3 separate regions of the Homo sapiens genome follow, and all the other regions are linked to region 1. Evidence: promoter capture Hi-C in human tissues and cell types (Jung and others, 2019). All regions are on one chromosome and are shown on one strand. Each heading gives the region's core, a stretch centred on a gene start or on the middle of the fragment in contact. The rest is flanking DNA. Distances are from core to core; before and after follow the strand shown.

The links. The method cuts DNA at HindIII sites, captures the fragments that hold promoters and counts their contacts. A contact is called where the count stands out against the background at its distance.
Region 2: a contact is called between a fragment that was not itself captured here and the fragment with the promoter of CLEC19A in region 1, in 1 of the 25 tissues and cell types used here (H1 embryonic stem cells).
Region 3: a fragment that was not itself captured here is called in contact with the fragment with the promoter of CLEC19A in region 1 in 1 of the 25 tissues and cell types used here (H1 embryonic stem cells).

The regions. Positions count from the first base shown.
Region 1 is chr16:19,283,566-19,287,561 of GRCh38, forward strand. CLEC19A (C-type lectin domain containing 19A) reads left to right here and starts at 2,166. Exons shown (of 5, transcript NM_001256720.2): 1 at 2,166-2,374. The coding sequence starts at 2,287. The HindIII fragment of the contact is 9,003 bases long and covers 868-3,996 here.
Region 2 is chr16:19,336,432-19,340,427 of GRCh38, forward strand. It overlaps LINC02858 (long intergenic non-protein coding RNA 2858), which reads left to right. Exons shown (of 3, transcript XR_950883.3): 3 at 549-1,368. Among named protein-coding and RNA genes, the nearest start is that of LINC02858, 4.3 kb to the left of the region's middle. The HindIII fragment of the contact is 5,111 bases long and covers 1-3,996 here.
Region 3 is chr16:19,249,797-19,253,792 of GRCh38, forward strand. The region is part of intron 7 of SYT17 (synaptotagmin 17); the gene reads left to right. Among named protein-coding and RNA genes, the nearest start is that of CLEC19A, 34 kb to the right of the region's middle. The HindIII fragment of the contact is 4,591 bases long and covers 1-3,996 here.

The DNA of each region.
Region 1 (3,996 bases), core at 916-3,415:
GTTCATCTGGGCATGCTCAGGTTACATGACCTTCAATCTGAGGGTCCATGGCAAATGAAAAACAACTCACAACTTTGTTACGTAAAAGTTGAACTAGACTGGTCCGATGAGGTTACAGGACTTTTAAGAGGTGTCTGGGTTATAAGAGCTCTTCCCTCATACATGGATCAAAGATGTTATCACAAGAGTAGCTCAGGTATGGCAGGAGTGGGTTCATCCCCTCTTTAAAAAGCTCTGTCTCTCTCTCTCTGTGACTCATCTCTCTTTTACCCTCTCACTATCCACCATATGATGACTCAGCAAGAAAGCCCTCACCAGATGCCAACACCTTGATCTTGGCCTTCCCTGTCTCTAGAACTGTGAACCAATAAATTCTGTTCATTATAAATTACCAGTCTCAGGTGTTCTAGTATAGCAGCACAAAACAGACTAAGATAGACACTTTTAAATTCCAAGCAGCACCCAGGAACATGACAGCAGGAGCCCCCAAATTTCAGCTTGCAAGATGATAGGGAGTAGGGAGAAAATATCCAAACTTTCTTCCACATTTATATCTTTTATCAACCTTTAATAATGTCCAATGTGGGTGTGTGTGTTTTATAACAGAAATAATATATTAGTACAGTGAGTCGTACCTGCACATCACTTATAAACATGTAATAAATATATCCCATTTATAAATAAGTAAGTGTGCATGCTCTGGGATATGCACCAGTACACTAGTTTTGAGGCAACAGATCTACCCGAGGAGGCATCCTGTAGGTTGAAGCTGAGCCTGAGCTGTGCTCATATTCTGAGTCAGACCTTGGCAGACTTTCAGCTCCAGTGCCAGCAGGCAAGGCAAGCTGTGTGGGCACAAGTTAAGTTATTTCTCACAAGCACAGCAGCAGGTGTTCCAGAAAGACTTGGAAGCCAAACAGACACATTCCAGTCCCTGTGAGTGCCAGCCACATGAGGTGTCAGGGCACCTGGCAGAGCATTTCTGGAGAGGAATAAGGGAGTGCAGGGGCAGGGGATGTGGGTGATGCCAAGGAAAGCCTTGCACTAGATCAATGACAACAATAGCAAATGTTGCTGTCATTTATTGAGCACCTACTACTTGCCAGCATCTATGCCAAGTTTTAGAAACAAATTACTTCATTTAATCCTTGTGAGGTAGGTACTCTACTTATCCCCCATTTTACAGAGGAGGCAACTGAGGTTCAGAGAGGCAAAGTGACTTGTCTAAGGACACAGAAAGTGGGGGAGAAAGACTGTGGTTTTTAGAAATATTGATTCTCCAAAAGAGCGATGAGATCCCAATGAAAACACTAGGGGTTTTTAAACATTGAATTCTGAGCAAGCCACACAGTAGAGCTATGCACTAGTGATGACACTTGCACCTCTTTGTGGAGCACTTATTCTGTGCAACACTCTGTTGAATCTTCTACAGATGCCTCCTTTAACCCCCGGAGGAACCCTGAGAGACCCTGAGAGGTGAAGGGAGAGGAAAGGAGGCTGACTCACACAGGCTTCCTGGTGCTTCCTCAGCGGTGGATGCTGTCAGGATCAGACCCATGGGGTGGAGACCTTGGTGAACCGAAGCTCAAAGAGCCTGGCTGAAAGAGATGCTCTTTCTCAGCTCCATGCAATTGTTGCCCTGTAGAAATGAGGGCTATGTTTCGTTAGGTCTTCCGATTTTCCAATAGAAGGCAGAAATCCGGACTTATACCTAGCATCTCTTGGTTTTATACCTTAACAAATTTTTTAGAATTTAAAACTCTGCAGACCAAACAAATGACATCCATGGCCCAGGAGACCTCTGCGCTCAATGCTTACTTGCAGTAATTTTACCTTCCAGTACATATCTACTCTGAGGGAGGTGAGATGCTTTGTCTCCTGTGACAGGCTGGAATGTGAGTTTCGTTACCATCCCATTTTACAGAGGGGGAAACTGAGTCTCAGAGAAGTGCACACCCAAGGCCACAGCGTGACTCAGAGACAAGACTGAGAGCTAAATTTTGTCTTGGTTCAGAGGCAAGCTTGGGAGCTAAAATGTCTCTTGGTTCTTTGAGGGGGGCTGGCCTAGGCTGCTTTGCTTTCAGCTGTCATTCTGAGCTGTCTCCAACAGTGTGAAGAGGAGGGAGGAGAAAAGGAAGAAAAGAGGAGGGGACTGGAGTCCATCCAGTCTGTCCCAGCTCCTGCCAGGCTCCATCTGACCCTAGGAGAGCAATCCTGGACCCAAGCTCCAGCCAAAAAGCCTCTCTCCTCCACTCAGGCTGGGAGGTTGCTTTCTAGGAGCTCAGGATGCAAAGGTGGACACTGTGGGCTGCAGCCTTCCTGACCCTCCACTCTGCACAGGCCTTTCCACAAACAGACATCAGTATCAGTCCAGGTAAGTGCAGGGACCAGGGCTGGGAGCAGGTGGAGAGGAGTACACTCTCAGGAACTTATTCTATCGGTGAGGCCTGGCAGCTTCTGTTGGGGGGTTGGGGTGGCCTGACCCGAGTCTCCTGACAGCTTTCCCCCTACCAGCTTTGTCATGGGCACTCTTCTAGGCCCAGACACAAAAAGTCCTGGGTTTGAATCCCAGTTTTGCAGTTTACAAGCTGTGTGACATAGAGGAAGTTTCTTGATCTCTCTGAGCCTCAGCTTCTTCTAGAAAGTTGGGTCGCAATGGCATTCTCTTTGGGCTACTGTGCAAGGCAGATAAGATAACATGAGGAAAGTGCTTTGCACAGTGTCTGGCACTACAGGAAGATCTGAACATGGTAGTTTTGTGAGGGATTTGGCATCTGGGCCCCAACCCCACCTTGGCTGTGACAGCCTTCCCAGGGAGCTTTCAGAGCTGCTGCAGTGCCACCAGAGGTTAGGTGCGCAGGGAGGGAGACTTGTCCCTCTAATGGCCTCCCTGGAGGCCTGGCCCAGCAACCCCCAGCCTTGTGGGGCATCCCCAGGGATGAGAACCTGTCAGCCTTGGGCATGTGGCCTCCCAGTGTCCCATATGGAGGGTGAGGGTCTTCAAATGAGCTCAACTTCTTCCACTTTGCAATAGGAAGGCTGGGTTACTGATTCTGGGGGACCCTCATCTGGATGAGAAGAGTTCTGAATCCTATAATTTGGTGGCCAAGAGTCTTGACTGTCACCTCTACCAGGTTCTTTCCAGGCTTGTTTATGTTCATATATGGATTTATTTATCATAGCAGTGGCAGAGATATCATTTTTAAATCCCCGTTCAAGTAAAACTAATAATGAAATACCTAGATGGAGATTCTCATAAGGCCAAATTATTGGGTTGTGATAGTGTTAGAGTGACTTTAAACAGAGGGTTGATAGGGTTGTCAGATAAAATACCAATAAATAAATATTAATAAATTATTTCTTAGTGTAAGCATGCCCCAAATATTACATGGGACGTATTTATACTAAAAATTATCTGTTTGTTTACCTGAAATCAAATTTAACTAGGTATCCTTCTTTTTTTTTTTTTTTTTTGTTAATCTAGCATCCCTAGTGGTAACAATAAGGGATAGTCTTAGCTCATTTGGGCAAGGGGTTTCAGTTCTGTCCTAAACTCTCTGAGTGTATTCATCAGCTCAGGCTGCGAATATCACAGACTGGGGAGCTTAAGCAACAAACATTTATTTCTCACAGTTCTGGAGGCTGGGAAGTTCAAGATCAGGATGCCAGCAGATTTTATTCCTGGTGAGGACTCTCTTCCTGGCTTGCAGATGGCCGCCTTCTCACTGTACCCTCACATGGCAGAGTAAGAGAAAGCTCTGGTCTCTTCCTCTTATAAGCACACTAATCCCATCATAAGGATGGGATCCCATCTAAATCTAATCACTTCCCAAAGGTCCCCCCTCCCAATACCATCACATTGGGAGTCAGAGCTTTAACATATGAATTGGGGGCAGGGAAGAGGAGAGACACAGACATTCCATTCATAGCAGTGACTTGCCTCCTTACTCTCGGACCTCAGTTTCCTCACCAATACAATAAGCAAGTAGGAAAGAA
Region 2 (3,996 bases), core at 971-3,470, 53 kb after region 1:
TTAATCCCCTTATAGGAGACCTACTCTCATGACCTCATCTAAACTTAATTACCTCCAAAAGGATCCACCTCCAAATATCATCACCTTAGGGGTTAGGGCTTCAACATATGAATTTGAGAAGGGACTAGAAACATTAATTCCATAACAAACACCTTCAGGAGGTTTTTGGAAAGCTTAAGTCGAATCTAAAGCACCTAGAACAGTAGCTGGCACACACTTAACACTATGTAGATGTTTGCTGTTATTTTTGGTGTTGGTATCTCCAACTCCAACAGCGCAAGTATTTGCTGAATTAATGAATGAAGGTATGAGTGCGTGAGTGAAGTAGAATGAATGAATGAATGGTGTGGGTTACCATGCAAGTAATAAGTCAATGGATGAGTGGGTAGATGGCTGGGTGACTGAATGAAATAAACAAACAAGTGAATACATCAATGCGTAGATGAATGATTAAATGAAAAATGTGATTATATAATAGAAGACCTTTTTTCTAAGATATTTTCTCTAGAATTCCCACCCCAGTCTCATGAATTGCCCTTGCTATGTAGGAACAGGACAGCCTGTGAGGTCACTGCGGTGACCTCCTTCGCAGAGGACCTCTGGTACTGCTCCAGCCACCAGTAAGCCCACTGCCTCTGGGCACTGCTCAATGCTGCCCTTACCTGGACCCAGACCATCAAGCTTGTCACAGGCTCCCCCCAGGCATCCCAGACATGACATCCAAGACAGTTTCCTGTTACTCTCCATCCTGCTGGAGAGTTCCAATGACCTATGGCATGAATACTCCAGACAAAGTGTTCCAGCCTTCCCCAGAAACCTCAAAAGTCTCTCAGGCACTCCAAGACTTCCAAGGCCAAAAAACTCAAGATGTCTTTAAACAAGACCAAAGACCCCCTCAGGAATCTGGCCAAGAAGCCCCCCAAGAAGGCTAGGCCCAGCACTTTTGAGCCTAGATCTTTCTACTGCCTTGACCTCTGCCCCCTCCCACCAGAGCAGCTACAGGCCCCAGAGCCCCAGTTACCCTTATCAATCTCAGAGGCCACAGATGTCTATCTCCCTGAGGATTTCCCAGCTGAGCCCAAGCTCATGGACCAGTCCTGGGTGTCCAGGAAGAGCCTGAAACCATCCAAGAGTCATCTTATGGAGCCACCCACTCCAGTGGCCAAGCACCAAAAGGCAAAGACCCGACATAGGAGTGAGAAGAAACAAAACAAATAAATGCTTGGCATCTCCATCGACCTGGTCCTTTTCAGCCCAGACCTATCAGCTCCAGACATCCCAAAACATCACCCTATTCCAGAGGCCACAGAATTCATGATTCCAGATAATTCGTGTTAGTCTTTGCTATTCAATAAACTCCTGGCTGCAGCTTCTACTTCCTGTATCAAAGCTAAGGCTCACAGTTGAGCAGGTTGTGCACTGCACCATGTTAGCCCTGGTACAGTACACAACCTGCCCAACTGTGAAAAACTGGCCCTTAGACTGACCCAGAGTCTCAGTCTAAAGGGGCACTGTTTACATCACTGCATTATAGATTTGTGTACTGTACTTACTTTGGCAATTTTCAGCAGATGGCAGTAAAGTGTCTTGAAGAAGGGGAGGTTTTACTAATTTAAAAAAAGGCACCAAAATGGCTACTGGTGACCCTGCCAAATACCTTCCTGGGTGGGAAAATGAGGCCCCAAGTTGGATCTTTGGCAGAATAATATGGTTAAGAGCTCATGCTCTGGTGCCAGAAAGACTGGGGTTGCATCCCTGCTCTGCCATTGAAACTGGCTACCTGACCTAGACAAGTGATTCTAAGTTATTTGAGACTCAGTTTGCCCATGTGCAAAATGGGGATAATAATAAGACCTCAAAATGTTGTTGAAGGGGCAAAATGGGATAAGCCATTTAGCCCAGTGATTGGCACATAGTAGGTGTTCAAGGAGCCCCTGCGAATAGTAGACACTTAGACCTCTACTGCTTTATCTCCACAAACCAGCAAGCAGGCTCCCTCCAGGAAATGATCCTTGGCTTTGCACTAACCACATGGCTTAAAAGGGACCTGCTCCCTTCTTTCAGAGCCTTTCCCTTGACGCCCATTGATTGGCCTGGAGGTGTCACCTGACCTAAGCTAAGCCAATCAGGGGACTTTCCTGCATTTTTCAATTTAGTATCCAAGGGAACAAGGTTCAGTGCTTAGCAGGGGATGAAGCTGAGACAGGTGGCTCGAGAGGAGGTGACAGGAGCTGCACTGAGGAGCTCAGCTACCATGAGGAAGATAAGGATCTGGAAGAAAGAAGCCAGTAGGAGGGAGAGGGGCTGGGAAGACAGAAAGAGTGAGTCGCCTGGTGACATCTGAGTCCCTGAGACCCAGAGTGATACTTGCCTTCCCCACACTTATGCCACAACTTGGAGCAATCTTTTTTTTTTTTTTTTTTTTTTTACAGGGTTCCTGTCACCCAGGCTGGAGTGCAGTGGCATAATCATAGCTTACTGCAGCCTTGACCTCTCAGGCTCAGATGATCCTCCCATCTCAGCCTCCTGAGTAGCTGGAATCACAGGCACACATCACCATGCCTGGCATATTTTTTTGTAGAGACAGGGTCTTGCTCTGTTGCCCAGGCTGGTCTTGAATTCCTGACCTCACAGAATCCTCCTGCTTTGGCCTCTCAAAGTGTTGGGATTATAAGGATGAGACACCATGCCTAGCCTGGACCAATCTTTATATTTGGATCAGACCTGATCACTTTACCCTAACAGGCAAAAATCTTCAATAGCTCCCCATGGCCCACCAGATAAAAACAGGGATTTTCTCATGCTGGTAGTCAAACATCTCTAGAATCTGGCTTCAACCCACCTTTCAAGCTTCATCTCCCTCTCTTGCTTGGTCAACTGGATGTTCCTTCACTCTCCAACTTGTGTGACTTTCTTCCTGTCTTTCCTCGTCTAGAATAGCTCTCTTCCCATTACTCCTAGTGGACTTTGGGTAGTGCTGGCCCTACAACCTCTAATTCTCCCTTCATCTGGTACGGTGTTCTGACTTCCTCTAGGGAAATCTCTCTTTTTTTCTTTTGTAGACAGTGTCTCACTCTGTTTCCCAGGCTGGAATGCAGTGGTGTGATCAAGGTTCACTGCAGCTTCGACCTCCTGGGCTCAAGTGATCCTCCCGCCTTAGCCTCCCAAGTAGCTGGGGCTACAGGCATGTGCCACTGTGCCTGACTAATTTTTTAATTTTTTTGTAAAGACAGCATCTTGCTCGTTTGCCCAGGCTGGGCTCAAACTCCTGGGCTCAAGTGATCCTCCCATCTTGGCCTGGGATTACTGGTGTGAGCCACCACGCCTGACCTGGGGAATCTCTTTACCCAACTAGAGATGGATTTCATGGTGTCTTTTCCTGGTCACATGGCCCAAGTAAGGACAGTTGGTTGCTCACTCTTGGGACTTGGAATCTTGAGTAGAGGACACACCACTACCAACAACAAAATGGTTTGAACTGACAAGACTCCTGATGAGTTCCATCTAAGGCTATACACAGATCTCTCCTCCTCTCAGCCCTCACCTTTAAAAAAAAATAATTCCTTAGTCTTCCTTAGTCTTCTGTGATATTACAGTTTTATATATGTTGGTTTTCATCCACAGCTCCTGGGTCATAACTCCCATAGTCCTTGTTACAATGTTGGGTGCTTTAGGTTTTAGGAGGCAGAATCTTTCTCTGATCTTCTCCTGTCCTCTTTTTTTTTTTGTCTTCCTCTGTCCCCTAGACTGGAGTGCAGTGGTGCAATCTCAGCTCACTACGAACTCTGCCTCCCAGGTTCAAGTGATTCTCCTGCCTCAGCCTCCCGAGTAGCTGGGACTACAGGTGTGTGCCACCATGCCCAGCTAATTTTTTGTATTTTTAGTAGAGATGGTGTTTCACCGTGTTAGCCAGGATGGTCTGAATCTTCTGACCTCATGATCCACCTGCCTTGGCCTCCCAAAGTACTGGGATTACAGGTGTGAGCCACCGCGCCT
Region 3 (3,996 bases), core at 1,000-3,499, 34 kb before region 1:
GGTGTTTCTGGCCATGCATGGTCTGTTATTGGAGTCATTGGGATAACCTGGAGTCACTGGGGGCTCCATACTTTCATCCAGGTCGTCTTGTCTTGCTCACTCCCTTGTCCCCAGCAGATTCACCAAGTCCTCTTTTTGCTCTAGGATCCAACAGCCCCATACCAGCCTGCGAACTGAGTAGTCACCCAGCTCATGGTATCAGTCCTTGGATACCCTCACCTGGAAATGAACATTTCCATGGCATAAAGAAGCAAGTAAAGGCAATAAAAGTAGAATGATTGAGTTGGTTGTGTGTCTGGTTGCTTTTATTTTAAAGGCTTTGGTTTAACATTTTATTTAAAAATTTTTTAACATATTGAAAGAATTGTCCCATGAACACCCATATTTCTACCCATCAGATTCTGTAATGAACATTTTGCTGTTTGCTTTATCACACATCTATCCAACTCTCTCTCTCGACTCATATTTTTATCATACATTTCAAAGTCAGTTGCTGATGTTAATCCCATTTCAATGTGGGGCAGACTCTCGGGGTAATTTCAAAAAGATGTCTCAAACATGTTTGTGTGTGTGTGTGTGTGTGTGTGTGTGTGTGTGTGTGTGTGTGTTTGGAGACAGGGTCTCACTCTATTGCCCAGGCTGGAGTGCAGTGGTGCCATCATGGCTCACTGCAGTCTCGACCTCCCAGACTTAAGCAATCCTTCCCAAATAGCTGGGACTCCAGGGGCACCCCACTACATTCAGCTAATTTTAAATCTTTTTTGTAAAGGTCTTGCTGTGTTCCCAGGGCTGGTCTCGAACTCCTGGGCTCAAGTGATCCTCTTGCCTCAGCCTCCCATAGTGTTGGGATTACAGGCATGACCTTGCCTCAGCCTCCCACAGTGCTGGGATTACAGGCGTGAACCACCATGCGTGGCCCCATTAGTTCTTTTTTTAAGGTGACTTTTTATTGAAGTCCAACACACATACAGAAAGGTGCATCAATTCATGAATTTATACAAAATTAACGATCCCATGTGACCAGTACTCAGATTAAGAACCAGAAACATTCTCAGAAATTCCCTCATAGCCCATGTCAGTTACTTCCCCCTCCCCCAGGGCAGCCATCATCCTGACCTTTCCTGCCATATATTCATTTTGCCTCTTTTTGACCTTTATGTAAATGGGATCACACCCCTTCCTTCATTCAGCATTATCTTCGTGAAATTTGTGTCATTGTGTGTAGATGTCATTTTTCTATTCACATTTTGAGGATAATAGTGTTTCAGAGTGTCACTATACCACAATTTACATATCCATTCTAGTAATAGGGTGATTTTTAAAACATGCTAGAATTTGCCCATCAAAACAGGTGGCATTTCTTTCAGAGCATAATTTGGGATGCCGCATATGCCAAGAGCTGAGGTTAGGAGTTGCAACTCACTCATAAAAGGTCATCAGGACCCGAATTCAAATCCCGCTCTACCACTGGACCACAGGCTGGGTCCCAGGTGGGCCTCCTCCTGTCACTGGGATTTGACACCTTGTCTTGCACAAGGATTCCAGACACATGCCACATTAACCCACAGTATAGGTTAAGGAATAGACTCTGTTGGGGAATAAGGAAAAGGCCTGTAGGACAGGCATTGGCAAGAAAGGAAGAAGCTTGAATTCCCTCTCCGTAACCACCATCCTTTGGAGAGATGCTGCAGGTCTGTGGTGTGTGTCTGAGTTCTAGGGCCAGGACTTTGTGCCCACCATCCCACCATTTTATAGCGCAAGCGTGAGCAGGCAACCTTGTCAGTGGGGGCAGGTGGGTTAGCACCAGTGACCAGAGACCTTAGGGCCCATGGGAAGTGACAGCTTCCTCTTCCCAGGGGAGGAAGCCACCAGGGTGGGAGGAAAGCTGGTCCCAGACAGTTCGTGGTCCAGATGTTTCGCCTAAGCTCCTAGAGCCTCTTTTGGACAATTCTGCTCATTGTACTTACACCCTGAGCCTCCATCTATTTCTCTGGAAAGTGGGAGCATCTCACAACCTTCTTCCTAGACTGCTGTGAGGGTGGAAAGGGATTGCGCATACACAGGGCCACACGGTCTCTACATGTGGCCTATTGATCTTTAAGGGATGTTACCGCTGTTCAAAACATGTTTGAGCTGAGTGTAGTGGCTCACACCTGTAATCCCAGCACTTTGGGAGGCCGAGGCAGGCAGATCATTTGAGGTCAGGAGTTCGAGAGCAGCCTGCCTAACATGGCAAAACCCCGTCTCCACTAAAAATACAAAAATTAGCTGGAGGTGCTTGCTTGAACCCAGGAGGCGGAAATTGCAGTGAGCTGACATCATGCCACTGCACTCCAGCCTGGGCGACAGAGCAAAACTGTCTCAAAACAAAACAAAACAAAAAAACCATGTTTGAGACGTCTTTTTGAAATGACCTCAAGAAACTGCCCCACATTGAAAGAAAACATAAATGTTGCAGAATTCTTCATCCTTTGAAATGAAACACATATGTTTTTGTTTGTTTGTTTTGAGACAGGGTCTCACTCTGTCACCCAGGCTGCAGTGCGGTGCTGCCATATACACATATATATATACATATATATACATATATATATATACATATATATACATATATATATACATATATATATACATATATATACATATATATACACATATATACATATATATATACATATATATATACATATATATATACATATATATATACATATATATATACATATATATATACATATATATATTTTTTTTTAAATAACTTGAGGTCATGGAAAGCTGAATGGTTCATCTAGATTAAGCTCAGCAGCACCTTAAAAAAATTAGAAATGAAGCATCATTCTAAAGAAATGAGGCTGATTTCTTTGGATGTTTTGAAGAGGATTCTATTCCTCAACTTAATGTTTGCATGAGGCACTTACCCTAAGCCAGTGAATCTCAAACCCGGCTACACATTAGGGTCACTGGGAAAACTTTAAAAAGCTGGGATGGATGTTTGGGTGCCACCTCCAGAGACTGTGTCAATTGGCCAGGAAGATCCCCTCCCCCATCACTATAGTCTAAAAAGCTCCCTAGGTGGTTATGTGTAGTCCTGCTAAACTCCAGCGTGCATCAGAATCACCCAGAGATTTGTTAAAACAGACTGCTGAGCCCCTGCCCAAGAGTTTCTGATTCAGTATAGCTGTGTGGGCTTGAGAATTCGCATTTCTAACAGGTTTCCAGGTGATGCTGCTACTGCTGGTGTGGAGACCACACTTCGGGAACCACTGCTTTAGACAGACCAGAGGTCAGCAAACTACAGCCCACTTCCTGATTTTGTAAATAAAGTTTTATTGGAATACAGCCATGTGCATTCATCAACATGCTGTTTGTGGCTGCTTTCTGCTAGTGCAGCAAAGTTGAATGCTTCCAATAGAGGCCATAGGTGGCCCTCAAAGCCTAAAATATTTACTCTCTGGCCCTTTATAGAAAAAGTATGTTGGCCTGGTATGGTGGCTCATGCTTGTAATCCCAAGACTTTGGGAGGCCGAGGTGGGAGGACAGCATGAGCTCAGGAGTTCAAGATAAGCCTGGGCAGCAAAGTGAGACCCTGAATATTAAAAAAAAAATTTTTTAAAATAGTTTTTAATTAGCTAAGTGTGGTTGTGTGTGCCTGTAGTCCCAGGTCCTTGGGAGGCTGAGGCAGGCAGGTCCCAGAAAGAAGAGGAGAGCAAGAAGACCTTTAACAACTTAGTCCCATCCCACAGAGATTGGAAACTCTAGATTGAGCCTGGGAGTTTGAGATTGCAGTGAGCTATGATAATGTCACTGCACTCCAGCCTGGGCAATGGAGCAAGACCCTGCTTCTTAAGAAAAGAAAAGAAAAAAGAAAAGAAAGAGAAAAAGTGTGCCTACCCTGGCCCTAGAGTAACACCTCTGGACTCTCTTTCAATTCTCTTTTTTTTTCTTCTTGAGACGGAGTTTCACTCTTGTTGCCCAGGCTGGAGTACAGTGGCACGA